4 separate regions of the Homo sapiens genome follow, and regions 2, 3 and 4 are each linked to region 1. Evidence: promoter capture Hi-C in 16 types of primary human blood cells and fetal thymus (Javierre and others, 2016). All regions are on one chromosome and are shown on one strand. Each heading gives the region's core, a stretch centred on a gene start or on the middle of the fragment in contact. The rest is flanking DNA. Distances are from core to core; before and after follow the strand shown.

Region 1 (3,529 bases), core at 451-2,950:
AATCTGAACTTAGGGGAGAGGGTCTGTAGACAAAAACTTGAGTCACCAATACACAGATAGCTTTTAAAGCCATGGGACACTAAATGATATTACCTAAGTAGGCAGCATAGTGAAAGAAAAAAAATAGAGAAGAAGCTCCAGAATTGAGCTCTGGAACACTTTAACAGGAGTTAGCCACGGGATGAACCAGAGAAAAAGACTGAAAAGAACTAGCAGCCAGTGAGAAAAGACAAAGAAAAGCATGGCAACGAAGAAGCCAAAAACATGTTTCAAGGAGGGAGGGGTCAACTGTGTCAAGTACCACCGAAGTGGAGAGGGAATAAGGGACAGGGAAGTAACCACTGAATTTGGAAAAATGGAGATTATTGGTGACCTTGACAAGAGCTGTTTCAGTTGCATTGCGGGAATGGAAGCCTGAGTGGAATGAGTTTGGAAGAGAATGAAAAATGAGAAGAAGACAGTAAATACAGGCAACTTTTATTACAGGTTCTATTATCACAAGGGCCAAATAACCAGGCTGACTCTGGCCATGCTTCCCAGCAGCCTTCCTCTCAAACCTCCAGATCTTCAGGTCCTCAGTTCTTGCAGGGCAGGGGCACATTCTTTTTTTTCACTCAATGACGTATTTAACAAGCATCTACTGTACGCAAGGCACAGTGCTAGGTGCTATGTGAGTTACAAAAATAAATTCTGTTCACAGGAAGTGTTTAGAACAACAGGGTTATGAGGTCGGACGCGGTGGCTCACGCATGTAATCCTAACACTTTAAGAGGCCGAGACAGGTGGATTGCCTGAGCTCAGGAGTTCGAGACCAGCCTGGGGAACACGGTGAAACCCCGTCTCTACTAAAAATACAAAAAATTAGCCGGGCGTGGCGGCGTGCGCCTGTAATCACAGCTACTCGGGAGGCTGAGACAGGAGAATCGCTTGAACCCGGGAGGCGGAGGTTGCAGAGAACCAAGATCGTGCCATTGCACTCCAGCCTAGGCGACAGAGCGAGACTCCGTCTCAAAAAAAAAAAGAAAAGAAAAGAAAAAAAAGAACAATAGGGGGTATGAGACACATACCAAGAAGAGTATCAAGGCTCAGATGTAGTAATACAGGTGTTCAAAGGCGTTTCCTTTCACTTGTAAAAGGTGATGTGGAAGGCTTGGAAGAGGAAGTGACGCTTGAGCTTTTAAGTATAAGTAGAATTTTAAGATATGTAATTAAGGACGCGGAAAAGAAGTCATTCCCGGCAAAAGAAATAATACGGCCGGCGCAGAGGCGGGAAAACATGGACTGACTGCGAGAGAAAAGCCAGAGTTCCAGTTTGGCTGCACCAAAGGCTACTTTAAGCATGAAAGAATAAGGTCAGACTGGGGGTATCAGAGGCGCTGTGCCCATAGGCAGAGTCCTGGGAGGAAAATATCGTGCAGGGACGTGGCCTGTGCCCGGAGGAGCCAACACTACCCCTGGGGCCCGCGCCCCTTCACTCCAGCCCGCCCGAGCTTCCCGGGTTCATGCCCCTTCTCTGAGGCGTTCTTTCCCGCCTCATCCAGGAGGCAGGGGCCACCGCCGTGCCCTGACTCTAGCCCTTTCTGTAAGCTCGTGGGAACCGCCTCCACCGCCCGGGACTCACCACCCTGAGTCTGAACCGCCCAACGCGGCCTCAACGTCGCGGAGCCGTCGCCATCTTTCCCGTTTCCTGGTCGCGGAGATGAACACCCCCCACCCCCCCGGCCGCGAGGCAAGCTGGGAAGGCGAGTTCCTGGAGCTGGGCGGCACAGGCCGACACTGAGGCCTGGAAACTACCAATCCCAGAATGCATGACTTGAGCGCCGGCCCCAGGCTGCGGGGTCTGCCGGGCAATGTGGTTTGCCAGACGTTAGCGTCCGGGAAGGAAGAGTTTTTCGCCAATAGGCTTTCGGCATTAGGTTCTCCCGCCGAGCACCCTTCTTGGAATCGGCTGGTCTTCCTAGAAACTACGGTCTATGACTGTCCTTGCCCGTGGCTTACAGTGGAGGAATTTAAGGGCTTCCTGAGATATCTGTAGTACGTAATTATAGCTAACAACCGCAGTAACAATAAATACCATTCGTGGAAAAGCGGTTTTTATAATAATTCTGTGAGAATGGGGCTAGCCCCATTTTACAGTTGGACAAACTAAAGATCAGGTTACCGGAGTAGGTTCACAAGGAGGGTGATGCAGTTCTCCATTGTGTGTGGAACTATCCCAGGCTTAGGAGGACGTTTTAGCAACCTTGGCCCCTGCAGCCGGGTGAATGCCATAACAACCCCCAGTTATTGTTACAGCTCCAAATGAGCCCACACAATGGGCTCTAAAGTCCTCCCGGAAGGATGGTATCTCCTGGGCTCTAGCACCTGTTTTCTCAACATTCCAGATGGAACCCTGGTTTCCTCAATTTCTTGCCCTTTGGAATGTGACCAATTGTTGAGCTATCTTGGTATTTTTGCTTCTTTCTTCCCCCAGATTCCCCTACTTCAGTCTTCCACTGAGTTTTGTTGTTGCTGTTGTTGTTGTTGTTGATGTTGTTGTTGTTGTTTTAACCTCAAATCGTAAGTTCACTTTGTGTTTCTCTTTGGTCTTATGGGTTCATAACTCTTTCCCTCAAAACAAAACAAAACATTGCAGTTGCGGAAACGGTTTAGATAACCAGAAGTATCTCGGACCTCCCTTCCCATTTTGCCAGCAGCAGGTTTGTTGCTTCAATTCCACATGGCTGTAGGTCTGCCTTTTCTCTCTGAATATGCCCAAGCTCTCAAGCAGAGCCTCAGGATAGACCCAAGTAATCCTAAAGCCCTGAGCATCACGTACAATGGCCCAAAGTAACCCTCGGAGACACACACTTCTCTTAGAACCTGCAGCCTTTCACCTCCCAGCTTCTACTCCAGAGAGAACGCAAGGGAAAGAAGAGAGCTCTGAGATCTGTTAGGTGTAATTCACCACAAAAGCACGAGAGGGCGCTCGACTCACAGATTCACAGATTAAACTAAGAATCAGACCAACCATGGTAGGCCAGAATCTTCAAAAACTGCAGCCACTTTTTATTGAGAATCTTCTAAGTGCTCAGCTCTGGGCTGGACACTTAACCTACCTTATTTGTTTTACTTAGTTCTCATAGCAGTATGAGATGAGTGCTATCTCCATTTTACTGGTAAGGAGATTGTGGCCCAGAAAGAGTAATTATGCCTTCAAAGGCCACATAGTTAAAAGAATGGGCCAGGTGAGGTGGCTCATGCTTGTATCTCAGCACTTTGGGAGGCCAAGACAGGAGGACTGCTTGAGCCCAGGAGGTCGAGGTCGCAGTGAGCCATGCTCGTGCCACTGCACTACAGCCTGGGTGACAGAGCAAAACCCTGACTGGAAAAAAAAAAAAAAGAAAGAAAGAAAAAAGAAAAGAAAAGAATGGAGCCAAAATTCAGGTTCATTTAACTTCAGAGTCCATTACCTTTCCCCATTTTCAGGCTGCCATCTCAACTCTCTTTAAATTGAGCTCCTGGAGGGTGATAAAGCTTGTCCCAGTTC
Region 2 (3,529 bases), core at 614-3,113, 1.3 Mb after region 1:
AGATCACTCAGCTCCCTGTGACCTTTGTATTCACCCAGGCTTCCTTCTCAGTAGCTCTAGCTGGGGGAGGTGTCAGCTGGGCCCCTCCTGTGCTATCTCCCCAGAGGACATCCCTGACTCCACCCCTTTCTTCCTCCCAAACTCTGCACCTCTTCCTCAGCTGCTCCAGACCGGCCAGGGTAACCAGCTAACCATGCCTGGCATCTGGAAGCCAGCAGGCCAGAGGGTGGCCCAAAGGCTGATGAACGGTAGGGAAGGGTGAGCAGATTCCTATGTTGGTGGGCACCAATATTCCAAGGGCAGCTCTCTTTGCTGAATGAGGGCCTTCTCGTGAGGTACTGACAACACCAGCAACTCGAGAGCTGGGAAACTCAAGGAGGAGGAAGAAAATCAAAACCACCCTACTCCCTGGGGTGAGGAAAGAACAGGAGGGGAGGAGGAGGAGTGTGCTCTGCACTTGCCTTGCTCCAGGATGGGGTGGCAGCAGAGGAATGTCACAGGTCAGCAGCCTAGGCCTCCAGCTATAAATAGTCCGGAGGGCCCGAGAGGCTCCCGCCCGTCCAGCAGGGCTGTCAGCTTCCTGTGTGGCAGCACCTGGCACACTGGCTCTGGCCAGCATTATGCTAAAACCCTGTTACTCTCCAATGAACCAGGGAGGCGGGCTCCTCTCTGCGCCTATCCCTTGAGAATTCTGTCTTACCAGTGAAGGGTGGGGCTGCCCAGATCAGGCAGCAGGAGTGAGGGGCACAGTCACCCCAGGCCTTGCTGAGCCCAGGTCTGGGTACTGAGTGTCCAGAGCTGCCTCCCCAGGAGGTTAAGGTGGGGGCAAAGGGGAAGCTTCAAGCACTTTGCCTACTTTTGTTCACTCCCCAGTGCACTGTGACTCAGGCCTTCCCATCAGGCCTATTTGTCTACCCAATAAAGCGTGTTTTTTCCAGAAACAAGAAGAGTTGGGAGAGGGAGCTTCAGTGCATGTGGCAGTGCGTGTGCTGGCGCGTATCATTGCACGTATGTTTTCCCTCTTACCGTAGGAAAAATGAAAAAAGAAATCCCTCCTCCATAATCGCAGCTACTCCAGGGGTCAGCGGCGGTGCCCACTCAGTCCCCATCCCTCTCTCTCCCCTCCCGCCAGCGCCCCCTCCCGCCCTCGCCGCAAGCTGGCCCCGGCCTTGCCGGCCCTTCTTAGGGGCTTTATCATGCCTCCTGCAAGAATAGAGATCACACACGGGACGGAAACGTTAGACTCTCATCCCTTGTGCCCATTCCTTGGTCACGGGCCAAGCTGCCGCATCCTTAGCGGTCCAGGCATCGCGGTGCCCCTCGGGCCCCTACCTGGACTAGGCCCACAGCCGGGCTCTAGGGGGCGCGCGATCCACCTCCAGAAGGCCGGCTGCGAAAATCTACCCAGCTACTGGCGACGTCACCGCACCGTAGGCTGAGGATTGGCTGACTCTGATTTAGCATCCTAAAACTTCCGGTTCCAGAGCTTGGCTCGCCAAAGACCCTCCCTCGAGGGAGAGAAACCACAGCCCCCAGAATTCAGCGGGCCTCTCCGAGAGCACGGCGCGTCTGAGGATGCGTAGTAAGGATAACGGGCCCGGAAGCCGGAAGTTCAAAGCCGGCCTCCAGCCAGAGTGACGGCCTGCGCGGACTCCCGCCTTAGTGGGCGGAGTTGTGCCGCGTCTGATGCGCAGTTCCCTTTATAGCGCGGCAAGCCGAATCCTAGAGGCTAACCCGGCAGGTGGGAGGGAGAAAGTTGCTTTCTGCACCAATAGCTGAGGCGTTCAGGGTTGTCCAGGGACGCTACCCTCACGTGTCTGGTTCCGAGTGCTGCGTTCGGCTGTGCTGGGAAGTTGCGTAGACAGTGGCCTCGAGACCCTGCCTGCCTGAGGAGGCCTCGGTTGGATGCGAAGGAGCTGCAGCATCCAGGTACGCTGCCGGCTAGGGCCGAGCAGGGGCTGCCAGTCCCACTGCCTGCGCGCCCACCTGGGCCAGTCTCCGCTTGCCGCGTCCTCCCATCCCCTAGTCTGCAGGCCTGGTGCCCTTGAATTCACCCGCTTCTGTTGCGTTGCGGACCGCGAGCTGCACTGCTTCCTGCCCAAGCCCAAGCTCCTCGCAGCAGTAGGTCAGTCTTGCTAGAGCTCAGCGCTAATCCTGTCAAACCTCGACTCCTGCCTGGCGTCTCGACCCTCCACGCTCCAACTCTGCCTCTTCCTTGCTCTATAGACCTCTGCGTCCTGATAAGTGGCTCTCCGGGGCACCCTTCGTGCATATCGGCTATCCAGCTCCACCTCTTGACCGCTTTCACTTCCTGGAATGCTCTCACTGCTCCTCTTCTCCAGGCCATCCTTCTAAAAAGACAGTTCCACTCCCACCCCGATTCCCACCCCTACACCTTTCTGCTAAGTTTTCTCAAGCCCCCACCCTGTCTTTGAGCTGTTGTCTCTGAACTCTCACAGTGCCTCTCCATGAGACCATAAGCTCCTGTATGACAGAAGCCATGTTCTTTTTAGCGGCCTCCGTAGCATGATGTACGTTATGTTATGTTATGTTATGTTATGTTATGTTATGTTATTTTGAGACAGGGTCTTGCTTTGTCGCTCAGGCTGCAGGTGTGCGCCACCACGCCCGGGTAATTTTTAAAAAAAGGTTTTTTTTTTGTTGTTGTTGTTGTTGTTTTTAAATAGAGAAAAGGTCTCCCTATGTTGCCCAACCTGGTCTCCAACTCCTGAGCTCAAGCCATCCTCCCGCCTCGGCCTCCCAAAGTGTTGGGATTACCGGCGTGAGCCACCGTACCCGGCCGATGTACTACTCTCTAAGTGCCAAACAAAAAGTAGATAAAAGATGATGGATACCTTAAAAGCCCTGAGTTGACCACTATGCAGTGTATGCATGTAACAAAATCGCACTTCTACCCATACGTTTACGCAATTTTTTTTTTTTTTTTTTGAGACGGAGTCTTGCTCTGTCGCCCAGGCTGGGGTCCCGTGGCGGGATCTCGGCTCACTACAAGCTCCGCCTTCCGGGTTCATGCCATTCTCCTGCCTCAGCCTCCAGAGTAGCTGGGACTACAGGTGCCCGCCACCACGCCCGGCTAATTTTTTGTGTTTTTAGTAGAGATGGGGTTTCACTGTGTTAGCCAGGATGGTCTCGATATCCTGACCTCGTGATCCACCCGCCTCGGCCTCCCAAAGTGCTGGGATTACAGGCGTGAGCCACTGTACCCGGCCGTTATTTTATTTATTTATTTATTTGTTTGTTATTTTATTTATTTTTTTGAGACGGAGTCTCGCCCTGTCGCCCAGGCTGGAGTACAGTGGCGCGATCTCGGCTCACTGCAACCTCCGCCTCCCGGGTTCAAATGATTCTCCTGTCTCAGCCTCCTGAGTAGCTGGGATTACAGGCATGTGCCACCATGCCTGGCTAATTTTTGTATTTTTAGTCAAGACAGGGTTTTATCATATTGGCCAAGATGGTCTCGAACTCCTGACCTCAGGTTATCAGCCCACTTCTGCCTCCCAAAGTACTG
Region 3 (3,529 bases), core at 1-2,500, 1.1 Mb before region 1:
GGCAACCCTGATGTCCCCTTGATTTTAGCCCAGTGAGACCATTATTTGGATTCCTGACCTACAGAACTGTAAAATAATAATAAGTTTGTGTTATTTTAAATCAGTAAATTTGTGGTAATTTGTTACGGCAGCACACACACAAAAAAAACTAATGCAAGGGGTATTGGTTATGTTTTGTGCAGGTATATGATGGGCCTCCCCATGTGGATCCTTAGTGCTGTGGCAGAGCCCTTGTTATTGTGCTGGGATTTTCCCTCCAGCTCCCGGCCGGAAGCTGGGCTCACGTGGGAGCTCAGTGCCCTCCTGCTACAGATCTGTCTCTTCCTTACAATGGTATGATCCCGAGGGTCAGGGTGAGGGGTTTGGGAGGATAAGGCTTGTGCTGATAAAAGGAAAGGTGAGGTCCGTTGCAGTGGCTCAAGCCTGTAATTCCAGCGCTTTGGGAGGCCGAGGTGGGAAGACAGCTTGAGGCCAGGAGTTGGGGACCAGCCTGGGCAATATAGCGAGACCCTATCTCTACAAAAAATAAATAACAAAAAATACTAGCCAGGCGTGGTGGCACACACCTGTAGTCCTGGCTGCTTGGAAGGCTGAGGTGAGAGCATTGCTTGAATCCAGGTGTTGGAGGATGCGGAGCTATGATGGCGCCACTGTACTCCTGCCCGGGCAACAGAGTGAGACTCTGTTTAAAAAAAAAAAAGTAGGGATTTGTGGGGAGCTGTGCGTGAGGATAGAATGTATAGAATGTTTGCAGTCAGAAGGTGATGGTCGCAGGGGTTCCCAGACTTTAGTGTGTGGAGAAATCCTCTGCGATATGGTGGGAGGGAACCTGGTTGATAGAAGGACGGGCGGAAGGAATTCTATTCACAGCGTACTCTAATATTTCTTAAGTTTTACCTATTAATTTTTAACAAGAAATTTTAATTTTAATTTTAAACGAAAATACGCATCGTACTCAGAGGTAAAGATTTTTAATCCTCGCGGTTCGCTCGTATAAAGGCATATTTCCGGTCCCTTCCAAGGTCCAACAATCCGGACACGGCGGGTCTGGGGATGGGCCCAGGAATCCGCCTTTTTAGCAGCATTCCCCCAAACGACACGGCAGCTTCGCAAAGCGGCGGTGGCGTCTGCGGTTCCGGGCGCGGGCGGCCTCCGGCCGGGGAGGGCGCTGTGCGGGCGGCGCTGGGGGCGGGCCGGGGGCGGAGCGCGGGGCGCCGGCTGCTCTGGCGGCTCCCGCGGCTCCGGCTGGCGGCTTCGGGCCCTGCACCTGTGACTCTCGGCCGCGCTCGCCCTCGGCCCGCCCGGCGCCGCAGCCCCATGGCCCCGTCCAGGCTGCAGCTCGGCCTCCGCGCCGCCTACTCCGGCATCAGCTCCGTGGCCGGCTTCTCCATCTTCCTCGTCTGGACGGTGGTCTACCGACAGCCGGGGACCGCGGCCATGGGAGGGCTCGCAGGTACCCCGGGACGCTGGGCGGCGCGGGGCGGGTGCGCGGCTGCGGGGCGGGCGCCGTCAGCTGCTCCAGGACGCTCCCCGCGAGCGGCGCTTCCCCGCGGAGCGGGTGGAGTGTTTACTCGAAAACAGCGGTTGGCGGCGGCAGGCCCCACGCGGGCCCGGGCTCCTGGGCATTCCTGGGTGCCTCTGAGACCCGATGCCCGCCCGGGCGCCACCTGGGGGTGCCGACGGCCCGCCACTGCCGGCTGCACAGACCTGCCGCGCCGCCCGGGTTATCTGTCACGGCACACTGCCTGTCGCCCTCCGCCCAGTTGCCCCACGACAGTGTCCCCTCCGCGCGCCCGCGGCGCTGGTCGCCTCCTATCCCCAAACACACACACACACACACACGCACACACACACGGTTGTTCTGAGGGATCCCCTGCCCCCCAGGCGCCCCTTCCCTGGGTGCTGGGTGAGGGCAGAGAGGGAAGAAGTGGGAAAGGAAGAGGGCTAGGGGTGGCTGGGGAAGCCCATCTCCCTCCTTCCAGAGGGCTCCCCCGCAGAGCCCTCTGCTGAGACCCACAGGGAGGACGGCGTTAGGGATCTCATAGAAACTGGACATTCTCTTTCCACCCATGTTGGTGCCTTTTTGCTACCCGTCTGCTGTGGCTCCTCAGCCAAGCTCTGCCAAATCCTGCAGGCCAGCCGCCCTTTCTGTGCTTCTGGGAGGGAAGGGGAAGCATCGGTGCGCTGATGGGGGCTCTGGGCTGACCAGTGCTCCTTGTTGTGCACATTTGGGCTCGCAGTTTAACCTCTCTGCGCCATAGAATTGGTATGAAGATGAAAAATATTATCTCTACTTTCTAACATTTTAAAAAATGCTTTCTATGTGTCAGGCACTATGTTAAGCAACCTGCTTCCCTTATTTCATTTAATCCTTACATTAGTCTCATGAAGTAGGCCTTACGATTATGTCCATTTTACAGATAAGGAAACTGAGGCCTGAAGTTAAATAAATTGCTTACCCGGGATTACACAGCTACATGAAATAATATGTGTGGGAAAGGACTTTGGGAAGAAAATACGTATAATACTTTTACATATGATGATTATATTCCATTACTAAAATCCTCGGCCAAAAGAACCCTAAATGGAATAACTAAAAATAACTAATTTACTCACTGCCACAGGGAGTGCTGAGTGCCATCCCTGGGTAGAGTCGCAGCATGAGGTGGGGTTAATGCCTTAGAAGAGGGGCATACAGGGCCCCACCCTACACAATGCCAACAAAGCACTGGGTCACCAAGAAGGGGGGATGGGCACCCTGGCTAGGGTGTTCTCTGCCTGCCCAGCTGCCTCACCACCTGTGGGATCCTGAGGACAACTGGCCCATCTCTGCGCGTTATCTACAGAGCCCTAGTTCCTTTCCCCACTGCACCCCGCCACCCTCCATGTTTGTCAAGGTTCACTTCTCCCTGCCACTTTTTTGTTTCCTATTGGCCCTGTTGCTTTCCCCTCTGGAAGGCGGCGTCAGAGCCCTATGATTGCATTGCGAAGACCGAAGGCAAGAGAAGGATGAGCAGGGAGGGCCAGCCTGGGATCTCAGCTGGTTGTGTTGAGTCTGGCCTGGTACAAGTGGAGGTGAACCCTACCTGGCCGTTTGACCCTATCCTGGGCCACAGTTTCCTCATCTATTAGGAGTGGGAGGAGATGTCCCCAAAAGACATCTGACTTCCCTCCAGATCTGAAATCTTGCAGTGCTGCCCACTCCCTGAGTCTCCAGCTGCCTCCTAGAGGGCTGTGGAAAAGGCCTTCTTTCTTATACTCTAGGGAGTTGCCTGGGGTTTTCTTCCGACCCAACTCTGCCCTCTCTCCCTCCCCACAGGCTTCCCTTGGCCTATGAGGCAGGCCAGCTGTGGAGCTGCCTTCAGAGAGAGGCGCTAGGGCAGCAGCTCGCTAGGGCAGCAGCTCGCTAGGGCAGCAGCCAGCTGGAGTAGGGTCCTGGTATCTCCCTGATGGTCTGATCTTTGACAGTGGCTGTGGAAGAGCCAAAACTGCTTGGTAGTGGTGGTGGTGGATGGTGGCAGGGAGAGGG
Region 4 (3,529 bases), core at 504-3,003, 1.0 Mb before region 1:
AACCCACTGTAAGACCCGGTGGCCACAGAGACACCCGCCGAATAAGGGACACAGAGGCCTCTGGAGAACACTGCACCAGGACCATTCCAGGTGCAACATCAGGAGGCAGCTCTGAGCTTGCCTCTGAGCCTGGCCCTGCTGGGCAAGGAGGGACATCAGGGGACTAAAGGCAGAGGACCAGTCCCAATAGGTCCAAGACCTGGTTCCAGTCTAGGTTCACTGGGCTGGGTACCACTCACTGGGACTACTCTGTGCCTTAGTTTCCCTCAGAAATGACTGCAGAGAAGAAGAAAATGACTTAATAACCCATGGGTAGCGGCAGCCTAGCAGCCTATGGAGTCCTGGGAGGGGGAAAGGGCCGCCAAAGCGTCTCATTGGAGGGCAGGGACCTGAGTCACAGTCTCCTGCCAGCCCTATAGCTGAATAGGGGTCCTGAGGAAGGTCCCACAGGTCCAGATGCAAGTCCAGGGAACAGGCTGAGAAGTTGATCTTGAGCTCCCAGCAGGGCCGCTGAGGGCCGATGCCCCATTCTCACCCTAGAAAGCGGCAGGCAGAGCTGGGCCTCAGGCAGATGTTGCCTAGGGGAGTGGGCAGGGAGCGTTGGCAGCGAGACAGCCAGTGTCCAGATGCAGGGGGAGGCCTTTGGGTGCGCAAGACAGCCAGCGGGGAGAAGGAGTGAGGAGCAGCCGTGGCTGGGGAGGTCAGACCCAAACGGGCAGCCACAGCGGGAAGCAATGGGGGTGGGGCACTGGGTGGCCTGCGGGCCCCAGAGGGCTCTCTCCTGGCCCACAGGCCTAGAAACTCTGGTCGTGGGAACCCAGCCCATCCGCCAAATTTGCCGCCTGCTCTCACACTCCCCAACACCAACAGACCCCAGGCCTGGGGGGTGCACATCCTGTCCCCCACCCCTCACACAGCCTGCGGCGCCCCGCTTCCCGCGCCGCTGCCGGCATTGACCTCCACAGCTCACCAGGGCACAGGTGTCTCTTCACCCTGATGGGTGAGCAAGGATGGGGGGCAATGCTCAGAGAAACCTCCCAGCCAGAGACCCCTCCAAGGGACCTCTTTCCCCGCCGAAGGATCTGAGTAGGGCCCTGCCCGGCTCCACGGGATGGGGGCGCTGATGTCCAGCCCCACAAAGCCCAGCCCCAACTCAGTGGGTCCTGCCCTTTGCCCTCGCGCTTCCAAACCTTCCGCCCCGGAGCACCGCCCCCTCGCCGGGCCACCGCGGCCGTCCCTCCCTCCCCGGTCCCTCGGCTCGTCCTCCCCGGGAACAGGGGTGATGGGACGTGGGGCCCGCACACCGGCGGCCGGGGCCTCCAACTCCCTCCCTTGGGCCTGTAGCTGCCCCGGGGCGGGCGGATGTGGGCGCCCCGCGGGAGGCCCGAGCCCTCCGGCCCCCGGAACCAGCTCCGACCCGGAGCCTGCCAGAGCCCCGCGGAGCCGGGCGGGACAGGCGCGGTCGGGGGGCGCAAGCCGGGCTGGGCCCGCGGGGCTGGCGGGAGCCCGAGCCGGAGCCGGAGCCGGAGCCGGGGCCAGGGCCGGAGGCCGAGCCTGGGCGGGCGACGCTGGGTGCCGCGCGCAGGGCGGGGCGGGGGGCGGCCGCCCAGTACTCACCAGCGCCGGGGCTGTGCATCCAGGGGCCGGGGCCCTCAGAGCGGGGGGCTCATGGCGGGGCGGGGGGCTGGGGCGCCGGCCTCACATCCCCCCAGTCGCCGGAGGCTGCAGAGCGACTGTGAGACGGCGAGAGGAAGGGAGGGGGCCGGGAGGGGGAGGGCCCTGGCAGCCCGGCCGGCCGGGTAGGATGACAATGGAAGGAAATGCTTTATCTGAGTCTGAGAGCGGGCCAAGGGGGAGGGGAGGGAGGGGGCAGGCGCTCGCGGCCCTGGGACACACCACCCCGGCAGACACTGCACCGCGCGGCGCACAGGCGGGCCGCAGACACCGCGCGCGGCCAGATCGCGGCGGGGCGCGGCGCACTGCCGGGGAGGCAGCGCCGAACCCGGAACGCCGGCCGCGGCTCCGAGCCCCAGCCGCCGCGAGGCGCTCCGAGCCGTGCACAATTCCCGGAAACCCAGCTACCTGGGCGCACGCACCCTCGCATACACAACGTACACGAGCACGCATCCATGTTTACAAGGGGCAGAATCATTTACACAGCACACACTGGGGCTTCGGGGTGGACCCCCGTGCACACACTACATACCCGTACAGCCCACAAGCACGCAGCCACACGCGGGCACAGTGGGACACGCGTGGTGTCCCATGTCCCATACAAGGAATCCCAGACGGACACCCCCCACCACACACACACACACATAAGCACGACTTGCCTCAGGAAAGTTCCAGGATCTGATTTGAATCACTGCCCAGCCCTCCCCCACTGGCACCCCCACACACACACCATGCCTGCTGAGGGGAACGGAAGGGTCCAGCCTGTTCCTATTAAAAGAAAAAGGGTGTGGGGGTGGTGCAGATTTTGAAAGTTTTCTTTTTTTAAAGAAATTTCTCAAGGGACTTCCTTCCCTCCTCTCCTCTTCCTCTCTTCCTCCCATTCCTCTCCCTCCACAACCCCCCTCTTTCCCCCTCCCGGTCCCTATGAGTCAAACTTCAGCAATGTGCCCAGTGTCCCCCAGTGCATTACAGCGGATCACAGAAATGTTCCAGTCTGTGAGTCGGAATGCAGCCGCCTCCAGCCCTCCCTCAGCTAATAAACTCAGCTCAGGGCCGGCTTTAGGCAGTGGCCCTCCCTGCCTCTCCCTCCGCTTTTAGCTGGAGAGAAGGTCAGATTCAGGGGTCAGGGGCTAAGGACCTCGCCATTGTGCTTCCTGGGCTAGCCGGTCAGCCGTGTCTGCCTCCAGCAATCTGGAGCTGCTCCTAGGAAGGGGAGAGGTCCACCACGCAGGAACACTGGGCTCTCTGCAGCGTGAGGCGCCACCATTGTAAACCAAGGAGCAGCTTCCCCTGACCCCATTCTATCTCCCGCAATCCTAAGAAACCCCAAGAATCCAGAGAAGGAAAAATTGAGGCAGCCCCAGAGGTGGAGTCATGTCTGATTGGAAGCAAGAGCCCACAGTGGCCTAGGAGGGCTTGGCCATGCTGGCGGTGAACTTCAAACCATAGATTCTATTCCCTTCCCTCAGGCACAGCTCGGGACTCACTATCTGTTGCTACCGGCATATTCAGCGTGGGACTTCTTACTTCAGCCCCTTTCCTTGTCCCAGTTCTCCTTCGGCAGGCAGATCCAACCCCTCTGCGCTTGTTAACTTACCCTCCCAAAAGCCTTTCCTGGCATTCAAGTCCTCCTACAACCTGGCACCACACTCCATACACATCCCTGCCCAGTGCCTCCTGGTACTTAGGGCTCAGTAGTGTTAGTCACTATTATTACTATCATTATTTCTGCCAGACTGGGCTGCTAGCTGCTTCCCATCCTGTCCTCACGCTTCCACACTCCCTTGCCTTCGCTCATCATGCTGCCTCCAAAAGAAATGTCCTCCCAGCCCCTTTCTCCTTCTGTTGAAATCTT

The links. Contacts are between HindIII fragments. The CHiCAGO score rates a contact against its expected background, and 5 or more counts as called.
Region 2: a contact is called between the fragment with the promoter of COX14 here and the fragment with the promoter of DDX23 in region 1, in 5 of 17 cell types (monocytes, neutrophils, non-activated CD4 T cells and 2 more). The highest score is 8.8, in monocytes.
Region 3: a contact is called between the fragment with the promoter of SLC48A1 here and the fragment with the promoter of DDX23 in region 1, in 4 of 17 cell types (erythroblasts, neutrophils, total B cells and 1 more). The highest score is 8.9, in erythroblasts.
Region 4: a contact is called between the fragment with the promoter of HDAC7 here and the fragment with the promoter of DDX23 in region 1, in 2 of 17 cell types (neutrophils and M0 macrophages). The highest score is 8.6, in neutrophils.

Annotation. Positions count from the first base shown.
Region 1 is chr12:48,850,463-48,853,991 of GRCh38, forward strand. DDX23 (DEAD-box helicase 23) reads right to left here and starts at 1,701. Exons shown (of 17, transcript NM_004818.3): 1 at 1,622-1,701. It overlaps LOC105369755 (a long non-coding RNA gene), which reads left to right and starts at 1,259. Exons shown (of 2, transcript XR_944925.3): 1 at 1,259-1,352; 2 at 1,588-2,087. RefSeq lists enhancers at 1,557-1,746, 2,626-2,835. The HindIII fragment of the contact is 5,632 bases long and covers 1-3,514 here.
Region 2 is chr12:50,110,373-50,113,901 of GRCh38, forward strand. COX14 (cytochrome c oxidase assembly factor COX14) reads left to right here and starts at 1,864. Exons shown (of 2, transcript NM_032901.4): 1 at 1,864-1,929. It overlaps GPD1 (glycerol-3-phosphate dehydrogenase 1), which reads left to right. Exons shown (of 8, transcript NM_005276.4): 8 at 1-941. RefSeq lists enhancers at 1,304-1,353, 1,414-1,673, 1,894-2,133, 2,144-2,193. The HindIII fragment of the contact is 7,994 bases long and covers 836-3,529 here.
Region 3 is chr12:47,771,988-47,775,516 of GRCh38, forward strand. SLC48A1 (solute carrier family 48 member 1) reads left to right here and starts at 1,251. Exons shown (of 3, transcript NM_017842.3): 1 at 1,251-1,453. The coding sequence starts at 1,318. RefSeq lists a silencer at 1,117-1,726 and enhancers at 1,472-1,978, 1,979-2,483. The HindIII fragment of the contact is 7,379 bases long and covers 1-3,529 here.
Region 4 is chr12:47,818,150-47,821,678 of GRCh38, forward strand. It overlaps HDAC7 (histone deacetylase 7), which reads right to left and starts at 1,754. Exons shown (of 26, transcript NM_015401.5): 1 at 1,618-1,754. The coding sequence starts at 1,636. RefSeq lists enhancers at 683-1,256, 2,595-3,516 and silencers at 1,165-1,474, 1,485-1,564, 1,705-2,044. The HindIII fragment of the contact is 23,145 bases long and covers 1-3,529 here.